2 separate regions of the Homo sapiens genome follow, and region 1 is linked to region 2. The links are contacts of gene promoters, found by promoter capture Hi-C in human tissues and cell types (Jung and others, 2019). All regions are on one chromosome and are shown on one strand. Each heading gives the region's core, a stretch centred on a gene start or on the middle of the fragment in contact. The rest is flanking DNA. Distances are from core to core; before and after follow the strand shown. Region 1 overlaps COPG2 (coat protein complex I subunit gamma 2). Region 2 holds the start of TSGA13 (testis specific 13).

Evidence for each region. The method cuts DNA at HindIII sites, captures the fragments that hold promoters and counts their contacts. A contact is called where the count stands out against the background at its distance.
Region 1: a fragment that was not itself captured here is called in contact with the fragment with the promoter of TSGA13 in region 2 in 1 of the 25 tissues and cell types used here (small bowel).

Annotation. Positions count from the first base shown.
Region 1 is chr7:130,629,416-130,634,889 of GRCh38, forward strand. All of the region lies in intron 5 of COPG2 (coat protein complex I subunit gamma 2), which reads right to left. Among named protein-coding and RNA genes, the nearest start is that of COPG2, 37 kb to the right of the region's middle. The HindIII fragment of the contact is 9,308 bases long and covers 1-5,474 here.
Region 2 is chr7:130,683,885-130,689,320 of GRCh38, forward strand. TSGA13 (testis specific 13) reads right to left here and starts at 2,661. Exons shown (of 8, transcript NM_052933.4): 1 at 2,378-2,661; 2 at 1,304-1,476. The coding sequence starts at 1,326. The HindIII fragment of the contact is 12,595 bases long and covers 1-5,345 here.

The DNA of each region.
Region 1 (5,474 bases), core at 1,271-3,770, 55 kb before region 2:
ACAGAGTTTCACTCTGTCATACAGGCTGGAATGCAGTGGTGTGATCTCGGCTCACTGCAACCTCTGCCTCCCGGGTTCAAGCAATTCTCCTGCCTCAGCCTCCCGAGTAGCTGGGACTACAGGCACATGCCACCATGCCTGGCTAATTTTTTGTATCTTTAATAGAGAGGGGGTTTTGCCAAGTTGGCCAGGCTGGTCTCAAACTCCTGACCTCAGGTGATCCACCCACCTCGGCCTCCCAAAGTGCTGGGATTACAAGTTTGCGCCACCACGCCTAGCCCTTCTCCTGGAATTCTACATATGCTAGTCTGTTTGATATTCTCTCAGCTCTTGAAATTCTTTTTTAGGAAGTCTTCTTGTGTGTCAGTTTAGGCATTTTTATAGACCTATCTTCAGGTACATTTATTCTTTCTTTGGCTGTGTTAAGTCTACGAATGAATCTGAAAGCAATCTTCATCTCTGCTACTGTTTTTAATTACTAGCATTTTGTTTCTTTCTTTCCTTTCCTTTTTTTTTTTTCAGACAGAGTTTCGCTCTTGTCGCCCAGGCTGTAGTGCAATGGCGCAATCTCGGCTCACTGCAACCTCTGCCTCCCGGGTTCAAGTGATTCTCTCGCCTCAGCCTCCCAAGTACTGGGATTACAGACACGCGCCACCATACCTAATTTTTGTATTTTTAGTAGAGATGGGGTTTCACCATGTTGGCCAGGATGGTCTCGATCTCTTGACTTCATGATCCACCTGCCTTGGCCTCCCAAAGTGCTGGGATTACAGGTTTGAGCCACCGCACCCGGCCCCTATTTAGGTCTTATTTAATTTCTATCACCAATGTTTTGTAGTTTTTAGTCTATATATCTTATACATCTTTCATCAGATTCACCCCAAAGTATTTCATATTTTGATGCTACTGTAAACAGGATTAATTGCAACTTACAACTGCTCTTGGCAAGTATATACAACATAATTGATTTTTGCATATTGATCTTGTATTCTGCAAATTTGCTAAGCTCACTTATTACTTCCTGTAGCTTTTGTTGGATTCCACAAATTTTCTACATAGACAATGTCATCAGCAAAGAGTCTCAGTTTTCTTGTTCAAATTGTTTTTCCTTAATAATTTTTCTGTATACTTGCTCTATGTTTTTGAGAGATGAGTACTGAAATTTCCAGCTTTAATTGTGGATCTGTTGATTTCTCCTTTCAATTCTACCAATTTTTGTTTCAAGCACTGTGAAACTCTGTTATTAGCTCCATAAACAATATTACTTTGTCCTCTTGGTAAGCTGACCCCTTTATCCCTAGTAATATTATTTATTCTGGAGTCTACATTATCTGAAGACATACAGCTTCTTGTGATTACAGTTAGCATGGTATATCTTGCTTCATCTTTTTACTTCTAATCTATTTGTTTCTTTATATTTAAGGTATGTTTTTATAGGCAGCATAAAGTTGGATTTGGCTTTTTTAAGAAATCCAATCTGAGCTGGGCACAGTGGCTAATGCCTGTAGTTCCAACTACTTGGGAGGACCGCTTGAGCCCAGGGGTTTAAAGATGCAGTGAGCTATGATCATGTCACTGCACTGAGTGACCCCATCTCTTAAAAAAAATCCAATCTAGCCATCTTTCCCTTTTAATTGAAGTGTTTAGAATAGGTGCCTTTAATGTAATTATTGATATGGTTGGGTTGGAGTCTGTCATCTTGCTATTTCTTTTCCATTCATCTCATCTGGTTTTTGTTCCCTTTTCTTTTTCTTTTCTTTTTTTTTTTTTTTTTGAGATGGAGACTTGCTCTGTCACCCAGGCTGGAGTGCAGTGGCATCATCTGGGCTCACTGCAACCTCCGCCTCCCAGGTTCAAATGATTCTCCGAGTAACTGGGATTACAGGCACGTGCCATCACACCTGGCTAATTTTTGTATTCTTAGTAGAGATGGGGTTTCGCCATGTTGGCCAGGCTGGTCTCCAACTCCTGACCTCAGGCGATCCACCTGCCTCGGTCTCCCAGTGTGCTGGGATTACAGGTGTGAGCCACTGCACCTGGCCTGAATTTTGTTCCCTTTTCTTTTCCTCCCCAACCTTCTTTTGGGTGGAATATATGTTATGATTCTATTTAACTCTTTTGTTGGCTTATTAGCTATAATTCTGCATTGTTATTTTAGTGGTGGCTTTATACAGTAAATCTTTAACCTATTAGATTTTCTTCAAGTGCTAAAACACTTCATAAAGAGGATACAAACTTTATAGTAATAAAGTACCATTTCTCTTCTTTGCCTCATGCTATTTTTGTCACAGATTTTATTTTACATATGTTATAAACTCCATACTAAATTCTTTTCTTTAAGCAGTCAATTAACTTTTAAAATTACGTAAACAAGGAAAATTTCTTGTTTATCTACTCAGTTTAACATTTCCAGTATTCTTCATTTCTTTGCATAGATCCATATCTTCATTATCATTTTCATCCTGGTGAAAAAAATCCCTTTTATAATTAATGTGACTCTGTCAGAGATAAATTCTTTCAGCGGTTTTTAAGTCTGAAATTGCCTTTTTATCACCTTCACTTTTGAAAGTTATTTTCACTGGAAATCGAATTCTGGATTGACAGTTGTTTTCAGCTGTTGTTGTTTTCTTTAAGTACTATCCATATGTTGTTTTGGTGGGATCAATCTAGTGTCATCTCCCTTCAGCCTGAAAAAACTTCATTTACTATAATATTTACTGTAGAGCAGGTCTGCTGGTGACAAATACCTTTTAGTTTACCTACATCTGAGGAAGTCTTTATTTCACCTTCATTCCTGGAAGATATTTTCAGTGGATATGGTATTCTGAGTCATCACTTCCTTTCTTTCAGCACTTTAAAGTTGGTGTTCCACTGTTTTTAGACTTCCAGATTTTCTGATGAGAAACCCACAGTGATGTGTATATGTAATGAATCATGTTCCTCTTGGTGCTTTCAACAGTTTTCCTCATCTTTGGTGTTCAGCAGTTTCATTAAGTGACTGAGAGCAGAGTCCTTTGAATTTACCTTGTCTAAGTTTCACTTAGTTTCTTGAGTCTGTAAATTTATCTTTCTCCAAATTTGTAAGTTTTCAGTCATTATTTTCTCAAATTTTTTTTTCGCACCAATACCTTTCTCCTCTTCTTCAGGGACTTCAATGTCACAAATGTTAGGCCCTTTGATACAGTCTCACAGGCCAGTGAGGCTGTTTATTTTTGTTTTCTTTTTTCTCTCTCTCTTTTCAGTTGGGATTTATTTCTACTGGTTTATCTTTAAATTCACTAACCTGTTCCTCTGACATCTCCATTCTGCTACTGAGATGAACCAATGATTTTTTTTATTATTATTATACTTTAAGTTCTGGGATACATGTGCGGAACATGCAGGTTTGTTACACAGGTATACATGTGCCACGGTGGTTTGCTGCACCCATCAACCTGTCATCTACATTAGGTACTTCTCCTAATGATATCCCTCCTCTAGCCCCCCACCCCGAGACAGGCCCCGGTGTGTGATGTTCCTCTCCCTGTGTCCATGTGTTCTCACTGTTCAACTCCCACCTATGAGTGAGAACATGCAGTGTTTGGTTTTCTGTTCCCGTGTTAGTTTGCTGAGAATGATGGTTTCCAGCTTTATCCATGTCCCTGCAAAGGACATGAACTCATCCTTTTTTATGGCTGCATAGTATTACATGGTGTATATGTGCCACATTTTCTTTATCCAATCTATCATTGACGGGCATTTGGGCTGGTTCCAAGTGTTTGCTATTGTGAACAGTGCTGCAATAAACATACATGTGCATGTGTCTTTATAGCAGAATGATTTATAATCCTTTGGATATATACCCAGTAATGCGATTACTGGCTCTAAAGGTATTTCTGGTTCTAGATCCTTGAGGAATCGCCACACTGTCTTCCACAATGGTTGAACTAATTTACACTCCCACCAACAGTGTAAAGGCATTCCTATTTCTCCACATCCTCTCCAGCATCTGTTGTTTCCTGACTTTTTAATGATCGCCACTCTAAGTGGCATGAGATGGTATCTCATTGTGGTTTTGATTTGCATTTCTCTAATGACCAGTGATGATGAGCTTTATTTCATAATCTCTTCTTTTGAGAAGTGTCTGTTCATATCCTTCACCCACTTTTTGATGGGGTGGTTTTTTTCTTGCAAATTTAAGTTCTTGGTAGATTCTAGATATCAGCCCTTTGTCAGATGGATAGACTGCAAAAATTTTCTCCCATTCTGTAGGTTGCCTGTTCACTCTGATGATAGTTTCTTTCATTGTGCAGAAGCTCTTTAGTTTAATTAGATCCCATTTGTCTATTTTGGCTTTTGTTGCCATTGCTTTTGGTGTTTTAGTCATGAAGTCTTTGCCCATGCCTATGTCCTGAATGGTATTACCGAGGTTTTCTTCTAGGGTTTTTATGGTTTTAGGTCTTACATTTAAGTCTTTAATCCATTTTGAGTTAATTTTTGTATAAGGTGTAAGAAAGGGGTCCAGTTTGAGTTTTCTGCATATAGCTAGCCAGTTTTCCCAACATCATTTATTAAATAGGGAATCCTTTCCCCATTGCTTGTTTTTGTCAGGTTTGTCAAAGATCAGATGGTTGTAAATGTGTGGTGTTATTTCTGAGGCCTCTGTTCTTTTCCGTTGGTCTATGTATCTGTTTTGATACCAGTATCACGCTGTTTTGGTTACTGTATCCTTGTAGTATAGTTTGAAGTCAGGTAGCGTGATGCCTCCAGCTTTGTTCTTTTTGCTTAGGATTGTCTTGGCTATGTGGGATCTTTTTTGGTTCCATATGAAATTTAAAGTAGTTTTTTTCTAATTATGTGAAGAAAGCCAATGGGAGCTTAATGGGGATAGCACTGATTCTACACATTACTTTGGGCAGTATGGCCATTTTCACAGTATTGATTCTTCCTATCCATGAGCATGGAATGTTTTTCCATTTGTTTGTGTCCTCTCTTATTTCCTTGAGAAGTAGTTTGTAGTTCTCCTTGAAGAGGTCCTTCCCATCCCTTATAAGTTGAATTCCTAGGTATTTTATTCTTTGTAGCAATTGTGAATGGGAGTTCACTCATGATTTGGCTGTTTGTCTATTATTGATATATAGGAATGCCTGTGATTTTTGCACACTGATTTTGTACCCTGAGACTTTGCTGAAGTTGCTTATCAGCTTAAGGAGATTTCGGGCTGAGATGATGGGGTTTTCCAAATATACAATCATGTCATCTGCAAACAGAGACAATCTGACTTCCTCCTATCTGAATACCTTTATTGCTTTCTCTTGCTTAATAGCCCTAGCCAGAACTTCCAATAATATGTTGAATAGGAGTGGTGAGAGAGGGCATCCTTGTCTTGTGCCTGTTTTCAAAGGGAATGCTGCCAGCTTTTGCCCATTCAGTATGATATTGGCTGTGGGTTTGTCATAAATAGCTCTTATTATTTTGAGATACGTTCCATCAAC
Region 2 (5,436 bases), core at 1,411-3,910:
ACAAGTGGGACCTTTGGATGACTCAGTGACATCCATTGAGTTGGTTTCTTCTAAAATAAGGATTTTAGACCATTCACAGAAGTGCTCTAACGACTGCTTAAGGAAATTATTTTGGGAAGTTAGATCCTCACAATACCCTTAAAAACCACCTACTATTTTGAATACTTACCTGCCTATTCTTCTTCCACATGGAAATTGCCCTGTTTTTGCCAGTGATTGGCCAATGATTAGCCAATGAATCTGTGAGAAGGAATATAGTTAATAGAACCTCACAACTAAGTTTCCAATTCTTGTTGACCTTGCTTGGATTACTGGCTCTCATGTCTTCCTAACCACATCTCTGAAGACTTCTCTTCTTAGAACTAGGGTAGTAAAAATAATCAACAATGGCAAATATTTCTGTACTCTACTCTGTTACCCTCACCCTAATACCAATTCTCTTTGCAGAAAATAGGGTGAAGCAGCTTCTATTCTTTGCTATTCTTTTTAAACCCATTTGCTGCCAGAACATAATGTAAAATGCTCCTCAGTAAGATTTGGTTAATGATTAAGATAAATGGCCTGCTTCTTCCTTGGAGATAGTTCCATTGGGTGGTTAAATTAGCTCAAAGTAAGAAGAATTATGCAACTATCTCAACTAGACCTCTCTCCTTTAAAAATGAGGATAGCAGAATAAGGACCAAAATAAAAGTAGAAATAGCCACGCTATGTCGTTTGTAGGTCAACTGGCTATAGCGTGCTACAAATAATCCCCAAATCCATGATTCTATCCCATTCAAGCATAGCTACCTTCCATCTGTTGCTGGCCACCAGTTGCACCATTAACTCAGGTCAGAGGTCTTAAAAACGGTCCCAACAGAGTAGGTGACCCATGATGGAGAGACCAAAATTCATCCCAACTTAACATCTTAAAGTTTGTGCCCTTTCATTAAGTTATCTAATAATTAGTAATACAGTATAATATTTATTGTAGCACTTTTCAAAATGATTCTTTGATACCTAAAAGGAAGCACAGAATCCCGGATACTCTTCTTCAGGGCCAATTTAAGGCATAGAACTATATGAAAAGCGCTTCTTTAGCCCAACAGCGTCCATCTGGAACAAGCTGGTGCTTTCTTTTTGACAAAAGCAACCATGAAATACAGACCAAGATCCGGTTTTTGATCCAGGGACAATCAGTCAATTAAAATATGTTTAATGAGAGTCTACTCTGTGACCAGCACCATTCAACGTGCTGTGGGCTATGCAATAAGTTAATATAAAGTGGTGTTTATAACTTAGTTGGGCAAACAAGACTACATACTTGGTTTGTCTCTTTTGGCTCATTGCTGTTGACTGCTAGTTGGCCAACCCAAGGCAGGTATTCACCCAAGGCCAAATTCAGGTCTCTAAATAGTCCACGTTCTGCAGGGGTTCAATTCAATCCAAATATTCTTTCCTTAGCACACAGTGTGTACTCATGCCCCATTCTTGAGCCTGTATGGGAAACAAGAAAAGACTGATAGGTGCTATTGTAGATGTAGAAAATGCACAAGACATGATGATGCTTGCTCTTAGAAGTTAAATTTATTTCACAAACGGGGGAGGTGGGAGAAAGCGATTATCCAATGTAAAACAATAGTGACAAATACATGCTAATATATTAGGTAAGTCACTTTATCTCTTGGGGTCTCAATTTCCTTATCTGCAAAATGGAAAGTATTAACTAAATGATTTAAAGGTGACATTCTAATTCCATGATAGTGATGAGATTTAACTATAAAAAGATCTGAAATAAAATTAATTCACATATGTCCGTAGAAGGCTAAAGGTGGAGAAGCAGCCATCTTCCAATTTTCTCCTCCTGTCAACAAAGCCATGCTCATTCATAGATTAGGCCTGAGAAGCTGGGAAAAGTGTGTGTATATATTGGGAATGGGAGGATTGCTATACTTTTTGATATAGACAATTAGAAATGGAAGATACAAGCTGATAAGGTAGAACCAACCATTTAGAGAAAAGAAAGGTCAGTGAGCCTTGGGATGTTTCCTAAAGGTTGTGGAGCTTGAGCAGAACCTCGCAGGATAGTGTATGAAGTAGTCTAATTGGAAGATTATTTGTCGTTGTTAAGTAGGAAGAAATAAAAGCAGGTAGGTCGAATGGAGTCACATTATAGGGGCCTTGACAATTAAGTAGAACTTTGAAAAGACCTACATCAGCCCAAATTCCTATGAAGCCCACAGGTTTAGTGGAAAGCCCATAGACAAGGGTTTATGTCTAACTTGATTGTCTAGACAAACCCTAAAGATGATTTCTAGAGTTTATGACAAGACTGAGCTAAACCCTTAAAGTTCCCTTCTAGGGAAATAGAGTAATAAGCGTTTCACCCTTTTCTCACCTTTAATTTTTCTGGAATTGTAAGTCCAATTCATGTATATGGTGAAACTAAAATAAAAATGAGCTGTCAAATTGGGCAGTATAAGTCTTGGGTTGCTAGTCTGCAGGCCAGGCTGAAAAACAAATCACACAAACACTAAAACTACATTCAAAATAAGAATGTAAAAACCTGGTGTACACTACCTTTAAGAACATCACGAAATCATAGTTTGGTGAAGAAGGCAAAGTCTTTGGCATGGGAACTTTCCATTTTGAAAATATCGTAATTATTCTTTTCTGGATTCTGGAGGAGACAGAGGGAATTTGTGATGAATAGGCAATCTAGAATGCTGAGGTGTTCTGTGTTGGAGACAGAGAATGAAAAGGCCAAAACTTAAAGGCATATTTAAACAAAATCTGCCAATCTCTTATTTTGCCAGCCTATGACTTCTCTACACACACACACACACACACACACACACACACACACACACACACACATCTTCACCATCTCTTAATCTACCTCTACCTAAGCCAATGTTTTCACTGCATTCTTCAAATACAGTGAGCATTTTTTCTTATTCCCCATACTTAAAATGCTGTCCCCAATCTCTTCAGCCATTTGAATCTTCTCCTTCTCCTTCTCCTTCTCTTTCTTCTGACGGAGCCTCACACTGTCACAAGGCTGGAGTGCAGTGGCACAGTCTCAGTTCACTGCAACCTCTGTCTCCCTGGTTCAAGTGATTTTCCTGCCTCAGCCTCCAGAGTAGCTGGGACTACAGGCGCCTGCCACCATGCCCAGCTAATTTTTGTATTTTTAGTAGAGACGGGGTTTCACCATGTTGGCCAGGATGGTCTCGATCTCTTGACCTTGTGATCCACCCACCTCAGCCTCCCAAAGTGCTGGGATTACAGGCGTGAGCCACCATGCCCAGCCCTGAATCTTCTTTCTTTATGTTACTACTCAGGTCATTCCTTTAAAGAGAAGATTTTCTAGATTAATGCAATCCCAAACTCTAGACTATAGTCACTGGGTTTTGTGCATGTCATTGTATAGTGTCTTGTAGTTCTGTTTTCACTTTTCTTATGTGCGGGTCTTGTCTGCCTCTTAAGCTGTGAGTCCCTTAAAAGTGGAAATGTAAATTTTAAACATATTTGTGCCCCCCTCCCAGTGCTTTGTATCTTATGCATTCAAAACTAGTGTTTGCTTATTTCAATATATTTGCTGAACATTTATGACATATTAGACACTCTCCTAGGTGATGAGAACAAAGCATAAATCAGATGTAATTCTTGAGCTCCTTTAGGAGCTCACAGTTTAGCCAGGAAGAGAGACAAAGAAACGGTTGATTGCAACAGAGTAGAATGCCAAATTAGATCTAAATTTAGGGTACTATGGAAGCAATGAGGAAGGGGACTTAACCCATACTGAGAAGAGACTGAGAGAGATTTGGAACTACTGCCTAAACTGAGCTGGGGAAGATGAGTGTGAATTAACCAGGTGATGAGAGGACAGACATTTGAGAAAGAGGGAGAAGCAGAGGCAAAAACATGAGAATACAACAAAGCCTGGCTTATTTAGGGGAATTGAAAATACTGTAATTGCAATATGCCAGGAACATAAGATTTAGGGGAAGGGTAGTGAGAGGTGAGACTAGAGAGGAAGACAGGATCCAAATCCTAAAATGAACTATTTGATAGGAAGTTTGTGGGTTATTCTGAGTAATGAAGCGCTAACAAGAGATTTTAAATGAGGTATAATCTCCTTATTGAACAATATATATTTTAGAAATACAAAAATAGTGGCATGTGAACTATAGATTGGAAAGACAGAAGAACTATAGATTAGAAAGATGCAAAGAGGTCCTTGAGAAGTCTATGACAGTGCTGAGGAGGGGTTGAGAAATTATAAGGGTCTATAGCCATCACCAATTAGTGCCATTCACTCCTGCATCCTAGCTCTGGATGATTGATTCAAAGGTGGCCAACCAGGTTATACTAAGAATTTGAAAGTTTGCTAATGACCCACAGAGCTGTAAGATGATTGCACCTGAGCCACCTCATGTGGTATCCCAGGCTGGAAGACTCTGAGCTCTGAGCTCTACCTGCTGAGGTCCCCGGAGCTGCCCCAGATCTAGTCCTTCCTAAAGCAAGACTACACAATTTTCTCTTCAGTTCTGTGAGCTTTCCTAATATTCTTTCAAATAAATCCTTTATTTTCTTAGGGTTCATTTCTGCAGTTTATGACCAAAAAAAAAAAAAAAAAAACCTAATATGGGCTCTGAAGCAGGGTGTCCAATCTTTTGGCTTCCCTGGGCCACGTTGGAAGAATTGTATTGGACCACACATAAAATACTCTAACGCTAACAATAGCTGATGAGCTAAAACAAATCACACAAAAAAAACTCATAATGTTTTAAGAAAGTTTTTGAATTTGTGTTGGGCTGCATTCAAAGCCATCCTGGGCCACGTGTGGCCCATGGGCCATGGGTTGGACAAGCTTGCTCTAAAGCAAGGTAGTGGCAGTGAAGAGGGTTAAAAAAGGATATATGAAAGATGTTAGGAGGGTAGAATTAATAGAACTTGGTAACTAGTTGAATACATGAGATAAGGAATATAATCACATTTTTAGCTTTGTTACCTGAGTTAATGGAGGTGCAAGTTACCAAATTAGAGAACAAAGGGAATGGAGCAAGTTTGGGGGATAAATGATGAATTTTGTTTCTGGTCAGTTGAGTATGAGGCAGAGGTGAGGATGTTGTCTAGTAAGTAGTTTAAAATATGGGACTGGAGCTCAGGAGAGACAGGTTTGGTACTATAGATTGAATGTTTATGTCCTCTGCCTCCCTAAATTCATATGTTGATACTGAGTCCCTAATTATGAGGGTATTAGGATGTGGAGCCTTTGTGGGGGCAATTAGTGCACTTATAGAAGTGGCTTCAAAAGCACATCTTTACTCCTTCTGCCATGTGAGGACACAACAAAAAGCCGGTCCTCACCAGATACTGAATGTGCCAGCACCTTGATTTTGGACTTCCCGGCCTCTGGAACTGTGAGAAATAAATTCCTGTTGTTTATAA